Linked DNA regions of Homo sapiens: regions 1, 2, 3 and 4 are each linked to region 5. The links are contacts of gene promoters, found by promoter capture Hi-C in blood cells and fetal thymus (Javierre and others, 2016). All regions are on one chromosome and are shown on one strand. The core of a region is centred on a gene start or on the middle of the fragment in contact, and the rest is flanking DNA. Distances in the headings are between cores, read along the strand shown. Region 1 has its middle 9.7 kb from the start of FAM98B. Region 2 overlaps FAM98B (family with sequence similarity 98 member B). Region 3 overlaps RASGRP1 (RAS guanyl releasing protein 1). Region 4 overlaps FAM98B (family with sequence similarity 98 member B). Region 5 holds the start of LINC02694 (long intergenic non-protein coding RNA 2694).

What was found. The method cuts DNA at HindIII sites, captures the fragments that hold promoters and counts their contacts. A CHiCAGO score of 5 or more calls a contact.
Region 1: a fragment that was not itself captured here is called in contact with the fragment with the promoter of LINC02694 in region 5 in 13 of 17 cell types (activated CD4 T cells, naive B cells, total B cells and 10 more); the score reaches 24.1 in activated CD4 T cells.
Region 2: a fragment that was not itself captured here is called in contact with the fragment with the promoter of LINC02694 in region 5 in 16 of 17 cell types (naive CD8 T cells, total CD4 T cells, naive B cells and 13 more); the score reaches 48.2 in naive CD8 T cells.
Region 3: a fragment that was not itself captured here is called in contact with the fragment with the promoter of LINC02694 in region 5 in 9 of 17 cell types (activated CD4 T cells, naive CD4 T cells, total CD8 T cells and 6 more); the score reaches 34.0 in activated CD4 T cells.
Region 4: a contact is called between a fragment that was not itself captured here and the fragment with the promoter of LINC02694 in region 5, in 16 of 17 cell types (activated CD4 T cells, non-activated CD4 T cells, naive CD8 T cells and 13 more). The highest score is 75.8, in activated CD4 T cells.

What each region holds. Positions count from the first base shown.
Region 1 is chr15:38,443,119-38,445,818 of GRCh38, reverse strand. No RefSeq gene overlaps it. Among named protein-coding and RNA genes, the nearest start is that of FAM98B, 9.7 kb to the left of the region's middle. The HindIII fragment of the contact is 5,806 bases long and covers 1-2,700 here.
Region 2 is chr15:38,479,826-38,482,525 of GRCh38, reverse strand. It overlaps FAM98B (family with sequence similarity 98 member B), which reads right to left. Exons shown (of 8, transcript NM_173611.4): 7 at 1,067-1,234. Among named protein-coding and RNA genes, the nearest start is that of FAM98B, 27 kb to the right of the region's middle. The HindIII fragment of the contact is 1,136 bases long and covers 827-1,962 here.
Region 3 is chr15:38,524,619-38,527,318 of GRCh38, reverse strand. RASGRP1 (RAS guanyl releasing protein 1) reads left to right here. Exons shown (of 17, transcript NM_005739.4): 3 at 915-1,020. Among named protein-coding and RNA genes, the nearest start is that of RASGRP1, 39 kb to the left of the region's middle. The HindIII fragment of the contact is 5,208 bases long and covers 1-2,700 here.
Region 4 is chr15:38,463,554-38,466,253 of GRCh38, reverse strand. FAM98B (family with sequence similarity 98 member B) reads right to left here. Exons shown (of 8, transcript NM_173611.4): 2 at 2,077-2,222; 3 at 851-985. Among named protein-coding and RNA genes, the nearest start is that of FAM98B, 11 kb to the right of the region's middle. The HindIII fragment of the contact is 494 bases long and covers 1,125-1,618 here.
Region 5 is chr15:38,695,204-38,697,903 of GRCh38, reverse strand. LINC02694 (long intergenic non-protein coding RNA 2694) reads right to left here and starts at 1,306. Exons shown (of 2, transcript NR_160786.1): 1 at 1,165-1,306. RefSeq lists an enhancer at 1,147-1,196. The HindIII fragment of the contact is 8,690 bases long and covers 1-2,700 here.

The sequences.
Region 1 (2,700 bases), core at 59-2,558, 250 kb after region 5:
TTGAACCAACCAGAAGTCTGGAGGTGGGAAGTTCTGCTTGTGAAATGACACTGCCTGTAAGGTGATTATTTCCCAGTGGAAGTTGAGCCAGACCTTTAACTTGGCAGCTGGAGCTTGGTATACCAAATGTCCTTGTGAGTGAATATAGCAGGTACCTCATTACACCTAGGACTAAGTATTCTGCTTAAAATGTTGGTATCCTCATCGTGAAAATAAAGTACTGTTTCCTTATCCAAGCCGAGAGGAGGCATTACTGATAATCCAGGAGGCAAGAGGGTGGTTCTCTCAGTGGATGCACTATTATGTATGGTAGTCAGGATAAACTAAGTGCTGTAACAAACCTTCAAATCTCATGGGGTTAGGATAATGTAAGTTTTTACCTCACCTATGCCATAGTACAGTCAAGTGTTTGGTGGGAGAGTATGGCATATTGTATTTTTAAAGATGATCATGACAATGCCATCAATACGTTATGTTCTTTTACAATGTGACTTTACTACTCCCCCATCAAGATATACAGTTTATATTCCCATTGAATAAAGGAAGGGCCTGTCACTACTTTGATCAATAAAATATGCAGGAAATGATGTTATGCCACTCCAGGCATAGTCTTAACTGCTTCCAATTCTTGACTCTTGGAATGCACATGTATGGGGCTCTTCCTCTTGGAACCCAACCACCAGACTAAGAGAATTTCATGCTACATGGAGAAGCCAAGTGTAAGCCCTCCAGTTGACATCCCAGTTGGGTTTCCAGCACATAGCCAGCATTATCTGCTATCCATGTGAGTGGACCTTCTTGGTCACTCACCCAGTTGAGCCATCAGATGACTGCAGCCATCTGTACTATCCAACAAGTGCCCTCAATTGCAAGAGAGATCTCAAGCAAGAGCCACTAGCTGAGCCCAGTCAACTCAGAGAGTCATAAGATCTAATAAAAGACTGTTGTATGAGCCACTAACTTTTGGTGTGGTTTATTGTGCAGCATTAAATAATCAGAACAATGGCCCTTCATGTGGCAGTTTAGGAACCTAACATCTTTTTTGTGACTCAGCTACTTTGGACACATGGCAACCAAAGTTAGCATAGAAAACGGATATGAAGAATGTGGAGGATTATACAAAGAGTTGTACAGTATGGTCTAGAAGAAAGCACATTAATTCTGTCCACCTTGCACAAATTAAAACTAAGTCATACTACCCTAACCTAACTGCAGAGATGCTGGGAAATAGTCTAGGCTGTGTGCCTAGAAGGAAAAACAAACGGTTGATGAAGACATTGCATTTTCTCTACCAAAATACCCCCTTAAAAGATTTTTCTCCCCAGTAAGAAGCCATACATAACTTTGACATATACAAAATTTAACTTAAAATGGGTCAGTAAACTAAATATAATGGTTAACAAAAAGAAAACTTCTAGAAGAAAACATAGGAGAAAATCTGTTAGTCTTGGGTTAGGCAAAGATTTCTGAAACAAGATACCAAATACAAAATCTGTAAGATAAAAAATTGATAAATTACACTTGATGAAAATTAAAAACTTTTGCTCTCCAAAAGACACCATTAAGTGAATGAAAAGCAAGCCACAAGCCTGAGAAAATATTTGCAACTCATATCTGATAAAAGACTTGTATCAAGAATCCATAAATAAATCCTAAAACTCAAAAATAAGAAAACAAACAACCCAACTTTAAAAAATGAGCAAAAGATTTGAACAGATACCTCACCAAAGAAGATATGTGGATGAAAGATAAGTACATACAACTATGTTCAATTTGTCATAAATGCAAACTTAAATCACAATGAAATATCACCATATACTTATAGGGGCTGAATTTTTTCTTTTGTTTTGTTTTGTTTTTTGTTATTTTTTTGAGACAGGGTCTCACTCTGTTGTACAGGCTGGAGTGCAGTGGCGCCATCTGGCTCACTGCAACGTCTGCCTCCCAGATTCAAGCGATTCTCCCACCTCAGCCTCCCAGGCAGCTGGGATTACAGGCACGCACCAGCATGCCCAGCTAATTTTTGCAATTTTAGTAGAGAAGGGGTTTCACCATGTTGGCCAGGCTGGTTTCGAACTCCTAACCTCAAGTGATCTGCCTGCCTTGGCCTCCCAGAGTGCTTGGGATTACAGGTGTGAGCAACCACACCTGGTCAATGGCTGAAATTTTAAAATCTGACCATACCAAGTGTGAGGAAGACATGGAGCAACCTACACTCTCACATACCACTGGTAGGAATGTAAAATCATGCAATACTTTGGAATACAGTATAATGGCTTCTTAAAATGTTGAACATATATCTACTATATAACTCTACATTCCAATACCATGTACCCAAGAGAAAGGCAAGCGTACATCCAGACAAAATACTTGTATGTTAATGTTTATAGCATTATGTTTACCCAAACTATAAATAAACCAAATGACCATCAACATGTGTATGAAATGAGTAAACATATTCTGGTATTTCCATATAGTAGAATACTGCTCAGCAATAAAAGAAATAAATCAATGATATACATAACAATATGGTTAAATCCCAAAATAATTGTAATGAGTGAAAAATGCAAGTCAAAAAAGTGCACAGAATGTACAATTCTATTTATATAAAATTCTGGGGGGTCTGATTCAAGATGTCTGACTAGAAGCAGCTAGTTCATGCCTGTCTCACAGGAAAGAAACAAAGTAGCAAATAAATAC
Region 2 (2,700 bases), core at 145-2,644, 220 kb after region 5:
CAGCCTTTCTTGGTTATTATTCTCACTGGTCTCTCTACCAAACATGGTATGTTGGTGGGCATATGGAGATGCCAGAACTGATCATAAGACTACCCTCAAATAATGAGACCATAAATTATAAACTCAGAAGAGATGGCCAATGTTACTTACAGAAATAGAACTCTTGATCCAGCAAGACTAAATTATCACCCAATGCAAGATGTTAGGTAATATATTTAAAGAGAGAACACTTTCAGAACATAGGATTGAGCCACAGTGGAAGCACAGAGGCAAACACTGGTGATGCCTAACTTAGCAATAGTTAGCAAAATGACTTTAAAAACAACCATCCCTCTGAAAAGGTATTTTATCTCAAGTTACACTGAGTGAGAAGCGATGCTTTAAAATTATCCAAATCCCTTATTTCTGATTTTTTGCTCTTTTGTAATAAAGTTTGCCATGGAGTGCTCTACCTAAATGAAGAGGACATGCCAGTTAAGCTGACATAAACATACTAAATTACTTTATTGTTATTGCTGTTGTAAAGTGAAAAATTCAGACTCCTTGAGCTTGTTTAAATAGACTACTGTCAGAGAAATGGATGTATACTCCAAATCAGGAAACAGAAGCTCAAAGAAGTTCAGTAGCTTGCTCAGGGTCATTTCTGTAAGTAAATGACAGAGCCAGGATGGGAACCCAGATTGGTCTGACTCTAAAGCACAAACTCTTCTTCCCTTTACACCAAGGATATAACGAATCTGTCAGTACTTGAAACAATTCCGAAAGATTCTTACTGACAAAAAATGATTACTTTTTAGAAAGATGGAACATAATTCTTGCTAAAGCTTTGACAAAAACAATTCATAATTCCTCTAATTCAGAAAATACTTTGATTTATGAATACACAAATTCAAGTGAACATACACACATACACAAAAATAACATAACTAAGCCTAGACTGAACCCCCCTGCCACTCTTTTTTCTAAACATTTACCAGGACATGAAAGAAAAATAGACTAAAATCTGTAAAAACATTAAGTAAGATATCATCAATTCATTTTCCACTGTACTGAAAGAAACACCAACCTTATTAATGGCACATGCGGTCTTCTCCCGGCTGGTGCCACTACTTGTCCTAATGATCTTGGATAGATCTTCACGAGCAGCAAGTAGATGTGCCATTGTAATCGTTGTCTTGGGTGACAAAGCATAACGCTTAGGCTGATAAATTCTTGCTATATCATCTGTTTTTACCTAAATGACAAGAGTTAAGGAAAAAAGGAACAAAAGTACATTTTAATGAAAGAGCAAAAACAATCATAATCTTTAGAAATAAAGAAAAGGAGATAATGCATAAGCAAGGAGTTAGAAAAGAGCAAAAACACCCAAATATCTGAGAATTTATGAATAATTTAGAACAAATAAAATAGACCAACAGGTGTTAAAAATATGTAACTACCAGCAACAACTCGCTAAAAAATAATAACAAAAAAATTTCTATACATATTAACAAAAAATACCTAAAAAATAGTTTTACCAAAACCACATACAGGACATTTAAAAGGGAAACATCAGTAAATCTTGCAAAAACAAAAGGAAAACTTGTATAAATGGTAAGAAATACCAAGTTTCTGTATGGGAACATTAAGTATTATTGTCAGTTTTCCCCCAAATTAACTTATAATCCTATATAAATAGTTTTTGAGAGAATGAAAAAAAAATCTAAAGTTAAATCCAGAAACTCAATATGTAAGAATAACTAAAAGCATTTTGAAATATAATCCTACCAAATACTAATATGCTATAATACAAAATTATCATCATCTTATCAGTTAACATTTAATGAGAACTTATTAAATGTGCCAGGATGCTGTTCACTTAGTAAGGCATTATTTCTTTAATCCTCAAAATATCCTTTTAGAGTGGTTGGTTTTTATTATCCCCTTTTGCAGATGGAAAAAAAAAATGAGGCATAGAAAGCTTAAGTTAGTTTCCCCAAAATATAGAGAGAATCCTAGCTCTGCCCACTTAGCAACAAAGGTCTACCTGACCCCCAAGCACAGGTCTAGTATAGATAACAGTTTGCTATCCTACCTCCATCTAATTAACTAGAACTTGGGAGAAAAAAACATAGATTGATGAAATAGTATATTGAGACTCAGAGCCTCATAAATCTATGAATGCAATAAATGATAAAGGAGACATCACAGATCAACGAGAAAAGGAAAGGATTATCTTTTAAATGGTGCTGGAATGACCTGGTGGCTATCTGTAATAATAACAATAATACAGCACACCATATAACAAAGGGAATTCCAAAGAGAACAAAAAGTTAACTGTTTGAGGTTTAATTTTCAATTTAAAAACAACTACATTATAAAAATTAAAATTTCTGTACTTTAAAAGATATAAAACAACATCTAATGACAACTGGGGAAAATATTTTCAACAAATAATTCAACCAGCAAACTTCCTTTCTATATAAAAACCTCAAACACAAAAAGAAAACAGAATTTTACAGGAAAAAAAAATGACAAGACATAAATAGAAGTTAAAAAGAGGAAATTCAAATGACTAATAAGCTTATGAAAACAGTTCAACTTTGTCAATAATAAGAACAGACAAAACAAGTTAGTCTTTTTAACATCAAGTTAGCAATAAAGAGGCTAAAGTGACACAACATTTCATTTACCTTACTGGAAGGAGTTTAAATTCATATA
Region 3 (2,700 bases), core at 58-2,557, 170 kb after region 5:
ACAAATATCCTGACTTCCCTCCACTCCCAGTCTCTTGCTGGTGCTTCCCAATGGCTAAACCCAACTGGAAGCCAGCTGGCAAGTGAGTGGGCTGATATTTTTCATGGTGAAAGAATAGATCTGGCAGAGAATAACCAGCAGAGCTCCTAACACTTCATGCCATAAATGTTGAAAAGATTTTGAAAACCACTCCAAGGGGAATCTTTTTACCCAATGCCAGTGTATAAATGCATCTTATTATTTTGTGCCAGCTGGGATTTAGAAAACCTAGCTAACCATGTTCTTTAATACAAATCATCATGAGTACTTGTAATCCACTTGCAATCTTAAAATGTAATGTTTGCCCATAGTCTTCTTTTATTTCCATCCAGAGGCATATTAACCATAAAACTGGAGAAGCATATATTTCAGGGCTCCTCACTTGCATGAGCCCCTTCCAAGGCCATGGGACGGCCCTAGAAATGTATTCATATGGTCATTTGTTTTTGTAAAATTTGTAAAGGTAAGATATTTTAACTGCAATCTATTAAAAACCAACTTTTCTCACTCTGACCCCAGAGAATTCTCTCCCTGCCCACCCCCCAACCAGTTATATGAACTTTAGGCCCCACAAAACCTGGATCTGCTTCTGCTTTCAGTGAGACTCAAGTGTGCTGATGCAGATTTTATCCCTTTCCCGATTTTACCACTGTGGAGAGGAAAAGGGGTAGTTAATGAGCATCAAAATGGACATTCTGCAAGGGAAGAATGTAGCAGGAGGATGAGAAAAACAGAGGGGGGCTGTGCTAGGGGCAGTGGAAGAAAATCACTGTGCCTGAAGGATTGCACCTGAGTCACAGAGGGTTTGCAGGTGTCTACCAGGTGACTAGTTTCCCTCCAGGGCCTAACTCAGGTGCTGCTCTTTATATTTTCAGATGCAGATGGAAACCTGTGTCGAAGTAACCAACTGTTGCAAGTCATGCTGACCATGCACCGAATTGTCATCTCCTCTGCAGAACTGCTCCAAAAAGTTATCACCCTATATCCTTTAACATAGTGACTGGCAATCCCAAAATGGGATCCACCCAAAAAGTAGCTTGAAATTTGAAGTATGCTTTTATTTTTATTGGTTTGGAATAACCCTGAGTGGCAAATAGGTTCATATGTCCTTTCAGGGGTATGGGTGCATGTGTTGGGGGTGTGTTCATGTATCCTCTGTTGGGTGGGGCAATGTTATTGATGCTGATTGCTCTGGGGGGTGGTCAAAGAAATCAATATGCAAGCACAATCTTCAGGCTCTTAATAGTAAAAAATATTTTTTCTGTAGAGTGTGCAAAATAGATATTCATCCTGTGCAAATTGACAAAGGTGCAAGCATGACTCAAGGATAAATTTCTTTCTGGCCTTCCTGTCCAATTCTTCAACTTTCTCCAGGTTCTGAAGAAAGATTCCCAGTGCCACAGCATCTGGAGAATCTGCTGGTGCCTTATTGCTTCAGGCAGGAGGACTGACTATGTGCCAAGCAAAACCTGCTGGACTTTAACCTTATTACGGGATATGAATCAAGTAGGGAGGAGAAAGCTCCTGCTTGCTTTTTCTCACTGATGACACTGTAAGCAGCAGCCCCCACAAAAGAAGAGTTGTAGGCGGAGTGAGACCGTTTAGCACCCAAGGCGCAGGTCCCTGGTACTGTGTCATGACTTGTAGCTGCTCTAACACTTTTCCACTCTCCTAATTCCCCGCGTTTCATCTTACAGCACACAGAAAAAATAAAAACCATCAGGACTGAATCCCTTCTCTATACCTACTCATGAGTCTTTACCTCTCATCTCAAAGGAGGTGTTTTCCAGTAGCACACAAAGTGGGGGAGCATTGCGAGAAGTGCACATAAATAAGAGGTGCAGGTAATAAGTGGGTGCCTCTTCTGCAGAGAATTTTAAACCATCATGAAACCAACTCAGTGTCTACTTTTTATTAATTTCATGTACCAGTGATTATAAACAATGTCAGTGATTAAATATTCCTCCCTAAAAACTTATTTGTTGGCCTAGGGACTAAATTGTTCCTGGGGTGTCTGGGCACAGTAGCTCACATCTGTAATCCCAGCACTTTGGAAGGCCAAAGTGGGCAGATCACTTAAGGTCAGGAGTTTGAGACCAGCCTGGCCAACATGGTGAAACCCCATCTCTACTAAAAATATGAAAATTAGCCGGGCATGGTGACATATGCCTGTAATTCCAGCTACTCATGAGGCTGAGGCAGGAGAATCACTTGAACCTGGGAAGTGGAGGTTGCAGTGAGCTGAGATCACACCACTGCACTCCAGCCTGGGCAATGAAGTGAGACTCTGTCTCAAAAAAAAAAAAAAAGAAAGAAAATTGTACCTCGGGGTTCCTGCCCTTAGTGCACTACTGGCTGCCTACATATTGGGGCAGACCCCCCCTCCCTTTCCCATGGTCCCTCGTACTTCTCACAGAATCTTACTCCACCAGCTATCACCCCTCCTATACTTTTAAACTCTACCTCTTCAATGGCACCTGCCCCTCAGCCTAAAACACATTCAAGTCTCCTCATCTAAAAATCAACTCTTAACCCTACCTCCCCTTCATTCCATTGTTAGGGTTAAAAATTTGATGTGAAAGCGTCTTAAAATAGTCTACACTCACTATCTCCAATCTCTTTACTACTCCTCACTTCGTAACTGTGTGAAGTTGGCCCCCA
Region 4 (2,700 bases), core at 122-2,621, 230 kb after region 5:
GTAATTTCAATGCCAATACTTTTGTCACCACTAAACACACACACACACACACACACACACACACACACACAAATTTCATCTCTAATGAAACAAACTTTATTAAAACACTAGCGCCTAGGAGGAATATGTCACGTGTAATCTTTTTATAAATGGCATGATCTGAAATAGAAATCTTCAATAATAGAAGGTATTAGAAAAATTCTTTCAAATAGTCATTGTTTGTAGAACTTTAAAAACATTATAAAATTAGCCTAAAGTAAAAAAATGATGAAAGGAACCCAACACAAACATGGACCTACTATTTATGGTAATTGTTTGAATACAGTATGACCTATATTCCAAATCCCTCCCTGATGAAACTGGCCACATTTAAAGTGTCCTAAAGGCACAAATTTTATATTTTTTAAAAAAAAACAAAACAAGCAACCCTCATATATCCCTAGTATCCAGAGCAGTTCTTGGTGTTAGAGTAAGTGATCAACAAATTATCATCCAGTGCCTAGTTTCAGAGAGTTTTTAGATTAAATAGGACTTTGGAGATCATCAATGTTAGCCATATAGTCACGAACAATAACAGATAGAATGAGATAAAGGAAAAATTACTAAAGTACTATATAAATCACAAACACAGGACATTCTATATTGGCCAAATAAATCACAAGTGTTAGAAGGCATACTGGTAAAATTTATACTATATTATATAAACATTTCTGAGATAGCTTTGTATTTTAAGTAAAATATTAAAACCCTTTTAATATACAAAATGTCTAATGCTTCATTAATAAATCTTGACTTGAAAATAATAAAAACCATGTCAAACACATGCATTTAAATGTTCAAGATAACTTACATAGAAGTTTCAAACAGTCCTCCTTCTTTTTTAAACGATCTTTAATATCTCCTGATATGAGTACAGAATATGGACATGCCATTTCTTTTAAAAAGCCACTTATCTCAAGCTGGAAGCTCTCTAGATCATCTCTTCCTTTAAAAAAGAAAAATCATAAAACATTTACTGAGCATTTACCATATAATCCAATACTATAAAATCTACTCGTTTATTTCCATTTTACATTCAATTCTAAATTTTCACATTAAATCCTTAAATGTGTGATCACGAAGCTTACGTTAACAACTGAAATAGTAAAAGCATTATTATGGCTATAATTATTAATTCACTTCAGAGCAAATGATCCATTTCTACTATATTTCTATATATTCAGAAAATAAATGCAACCATCTAATTAACCCTCACTGCTTATCTTTATTTCATAATGTAATTATGTAGGCAGTCGTGTTATATGTTTAGAATTCAAATTAGTTTACTTTGCGTCAAGTGAACTGTTAGATCTGGCTGGGTGCGGTAGCCCACACCTGCAGTTTCAACTACTTGGGAGGGTGGGGTGAGAGGGTTGCTTGAGCCCAGGAGTTCAAGTCCAGTCTGTGCAACATAACAAGACCCCATCTCTTAAGAAAAAAAGGATACTTTTCAAAGAAAAAGCTACTTTTGTGAATGCACAATTTTTAATTTTTCTTTTTATTATACTATTAATATCCGAAATTCTACCAAAGACCCACAGGACTCCAGTTACTAAGATGGTAATGAACTAAAGAAGCTTTATGAGCTAGTACAGAAGTTTTTAATAGAAGTATTCCTATGTGAATCCATATCCTGAGCTACAAGCTTCAGAACACAAATTAGGAATTATATATATATAATATTTTAAGCCTTAATTCAACATGAGCACCATTCAAAAATTAAACTTTTAAATAATCAAATTCAGACCCTACTTTTTCTAAAAAACAATACTAAGGTTTAGACAGCAGATATCAGAGCCGTCAGGAAGAGAAAAAAATAGCAGATAAATAGTAATTGCTTATAGTTTTATAGCAAATTTAAATATCAATTCTGGATTAATATAAAATTTAATCCAAAAATGTTTACTACCACATACTGAAATTCTTTGGAATATGTGATTTTTCTTTGTACAGTGGGCACATTATTGATAAAACTATAAACCGTAAGTTATCAGTTTACTATTAAACAGAAAAGTAAATACAACATAATGGCAATACCAGCAGACGTGATACTTTCTTCCAAGTTGCATAATGATTTTATTTGAGAGCCTAACCAAATACAGAGCTCTGAAAATTCAGGTGAAGATAATCCACCCTCTGCCGCCTTTGTAAGGGCTTGCTCTTCTAACAATGGTCCTTTATACCTAGAAAGGAAGAAATACAAGTTAAAAACTAAATAAGCCAATCAAACAAAAAAACCTCCAACACTCTGTGTCAAGGTCTGCTGCTTGTTTTTGTAAATAAAATGTTATTGGAACACAGCCATTAAATGTATTAATCTACAAATTGGCTACGGCTGTTTCCACACTACAATGGAAGAGCTAAGTATTTGTAACCGAAAATGATGACTACATGGCCTTCTAAAGAAATGGTTTGCTGATTCCTGCTCTATATAATTAACATTTGGCTTTTTTCCTATGTTTTAACATTTTACAGTAAAATTATCTACCAATTTTCAGATAAATACCACAGGTATCACAAAGTCAAATACAGCATAAAGTCTAATAGCCTTATATTAATTACAATAAAAATATGGTGAAAAAAGCACAGACACAAATTACAAATTTAAAAAAGCTAAAGTTGAAAAGAATCTATTAGATCATTTTAATCTAAACCTATTTT
Region 5 (2,700 bases), core at 57-2,556:
AGGGGTGCCAAGAAGCACTTGAGACCAGAGTAAGGATGCCCTCCCCGTCACTGGCACACAGCTAACCATGGAAAAGGACTTCTCTATGACTGCCAGCCACCAAGGAAATTAGGGACACCAGAGGCAAGAAAATTATGTTCAGTTACAAAATACATTCCATTTTATAGCCATTTCTATTATCGGTTGCTACTATAATAAATTACCAAAACTTTAGCAGCTTAAAACACACACTATCATTTAGTTCTATGGGCCAGAAGTCCTATGGGTCTCATAGGACTAAAATCAACGTCTCGGCAGGACAGCGTTCCTTGGTGGCAGCTCTGGGGGTGCATCACTATCTTTGCTCATTCTGGTCTTGACAGTTCCGTGGGACTGTAAGACTGAGGTCCTTGCTGGTTGCTAACTGGGGCCACCCTGAACTCCTAGAAGACATTTGCTCTGTCCTTACATAGAGTCCCTACCTCTCAGAACCAGCCACAGGGCATGGAATCCTTCTCTCATGGCCCTCTCTTTGACTCCAATTCCCCTAGCTGCATTTCTGTCTCTGACTGCACCCAGGGAAGCCTGTCTGCTTTTTAGGATTAGATTAGGCCCATTCGGATAATCCAGGATAATCTCTTTATCTCAAGATCCTTAATGTTAACCACACTTGCAAAATCCTGTTTGCTATTAAGATAACATATTTACAGTTTCTAGGAATGAGAATGTAAACATCTTTGGGTTGGGGGAGTGGGCATCTTTCTGTCTATCAAACTATTCACCAGGCATTTATTTACTATCTTAATGGCCAAGTACAGTGCTATGTGCTGAATTGATGTTGGTATAAGGGGCATGGGGCAGGGGAGAAAGTCTAGGATGGGTGATGCCCCCCACTGGGATATCTGACTTAGAGCTTTGCAGTACTCCAGGGGATGCTGTTGACATAAAATACAATGTAGATTGTAACTCTCACCTCTCACTCCCTTAACCCTCTTGACTCCCCAGTCCTTGCCCCTGACTTATACAGGCTGGAGGTGTCTGAATAAGGTCATTCCAGTTCTCTGGGAGGCAGGAGCTAAGCTCACCAGGGGACTGAGATCCAGGTTCAGCCATAGCAGAAACTGAGAACCCTGCTAGATCCAGGTTCAGCCATAGCAGAAAAAAACAGAGCAAGGTGGGACTTACAGCCATCCAAACAGACGCCTGGAGACAGATGCTGCTCCTGCCCTTAGCCTTGCTTCCTGGCCTGGTTTCATGGTTCCTCCGGGGACTAGAGAGGGAAATGCCCAGGTCCTCTTGGGCCCCTTGTAGCTCCATATCAGAACAGAAAACCTGTCACTAACTGAAGTCCCTTCCGGCTGAGGTACCCCGGCCTATATTTTGCAGCTCCAGGGCTCATCAGAGCCACCAATTTGCTGATGGGTTCTCAACCACAAGGATGGTGAGTCAGCACAGTGGTTGACTCTCAGCAGAGAGGATGCAGCCTTCAGCAGAGCTCCTGGTGGGGCAGCCTCCTGATCAGCCTGTGCTGTGGTCCTGCCCCTGCATTTCTTCCAGTCCTGGACGTCCCTGGCCTGGCTGGCACCCTAGTCGCACACCCAAGAAGCAGTTCAGCTTGCTGAGCACAGTGTTTCCCAAAACTGTGGCATAAGAGGTGAAGGATAGACCAGGGAGGAAGTCTTCAGCCCAGTCTGACAAACACAGGCCAACGTTTGGCCAACAGCAACTCAGGCTCTTTGCTCTAGGCCAAACTTGAAACATTAGTGTGCTGGTAGGTGTTCTGCCTTCCCTCCCTCTGCTCTAGAATTCAGATCTGGAAGCCAGGTCCTGACAGCTGGGATCCAGATGCAGTCCCCATCACAGCATCACATTCTGGCCAACCAGGCTTCCAGTGGCAGGAGCTGCCACCAGGAATGGGCACCAGTCCTCTCTCAGTTAAAAAGCCTTTGCTTCACACCACAAAACCCAAAGTGCCAGCTGTGGTGACAACCACTGCTCCTACCACTTAAAATTTGCTGGCAAGGGAGACTTTTAGAGAATGATTCCCCCACAAATATAGCATTCCTTTTTTTAATCTTTCCTGTACCCCTCTTAGGGCTAAGTTACTGATGATAGCCCTGCGTGATACAGAGCAAGCTGGCAGCAAGGAGGAAAATTGTCAGCAGTGACAAGCTCCAGATGACAGTTATGTGGCTTGGAAGGCAAGTCTTACTCTAAAGAGATCCTGCCCCCATCCCAGCTCTGGATTACTTGGTCTGATAGGTTTTACAGGGTATGACCCCAGTTTTCTGTTTAAGGACATTGGCCTCCAGATATGACTAGGAGGGAGTTTTCCTCTAATATCTTTCCGCAAAGATCACCATGACAATGACCAGAATAATAAATATCTATAATCACATGCAATCTTTAGCTTTAGTAATAGAGTGTGACAGAGAACTCTGCTGCTGCTGCTGCTGCTGCTGCTGCTGCTGCTGATAGTGATGGCGATGATAAGGAAGACACAAGATAATCTGACCTTCCTCAGCCTCTGATGGCTGATTACAGGTAGATGTGGCTTCTGAAGCAAAGTTACATAATTCACCTCTTGTTCCTGATCCACTTTTAGCAAAACTTCCGTGGAAAGGACCTTGTACCTTCTTGAAGTATCCAACATGCTGTCATCTTTATGTTTTCCTACCAAGTTCCCACATTTCTGCCTCAGTGGGTTCTACAGTCTGAACC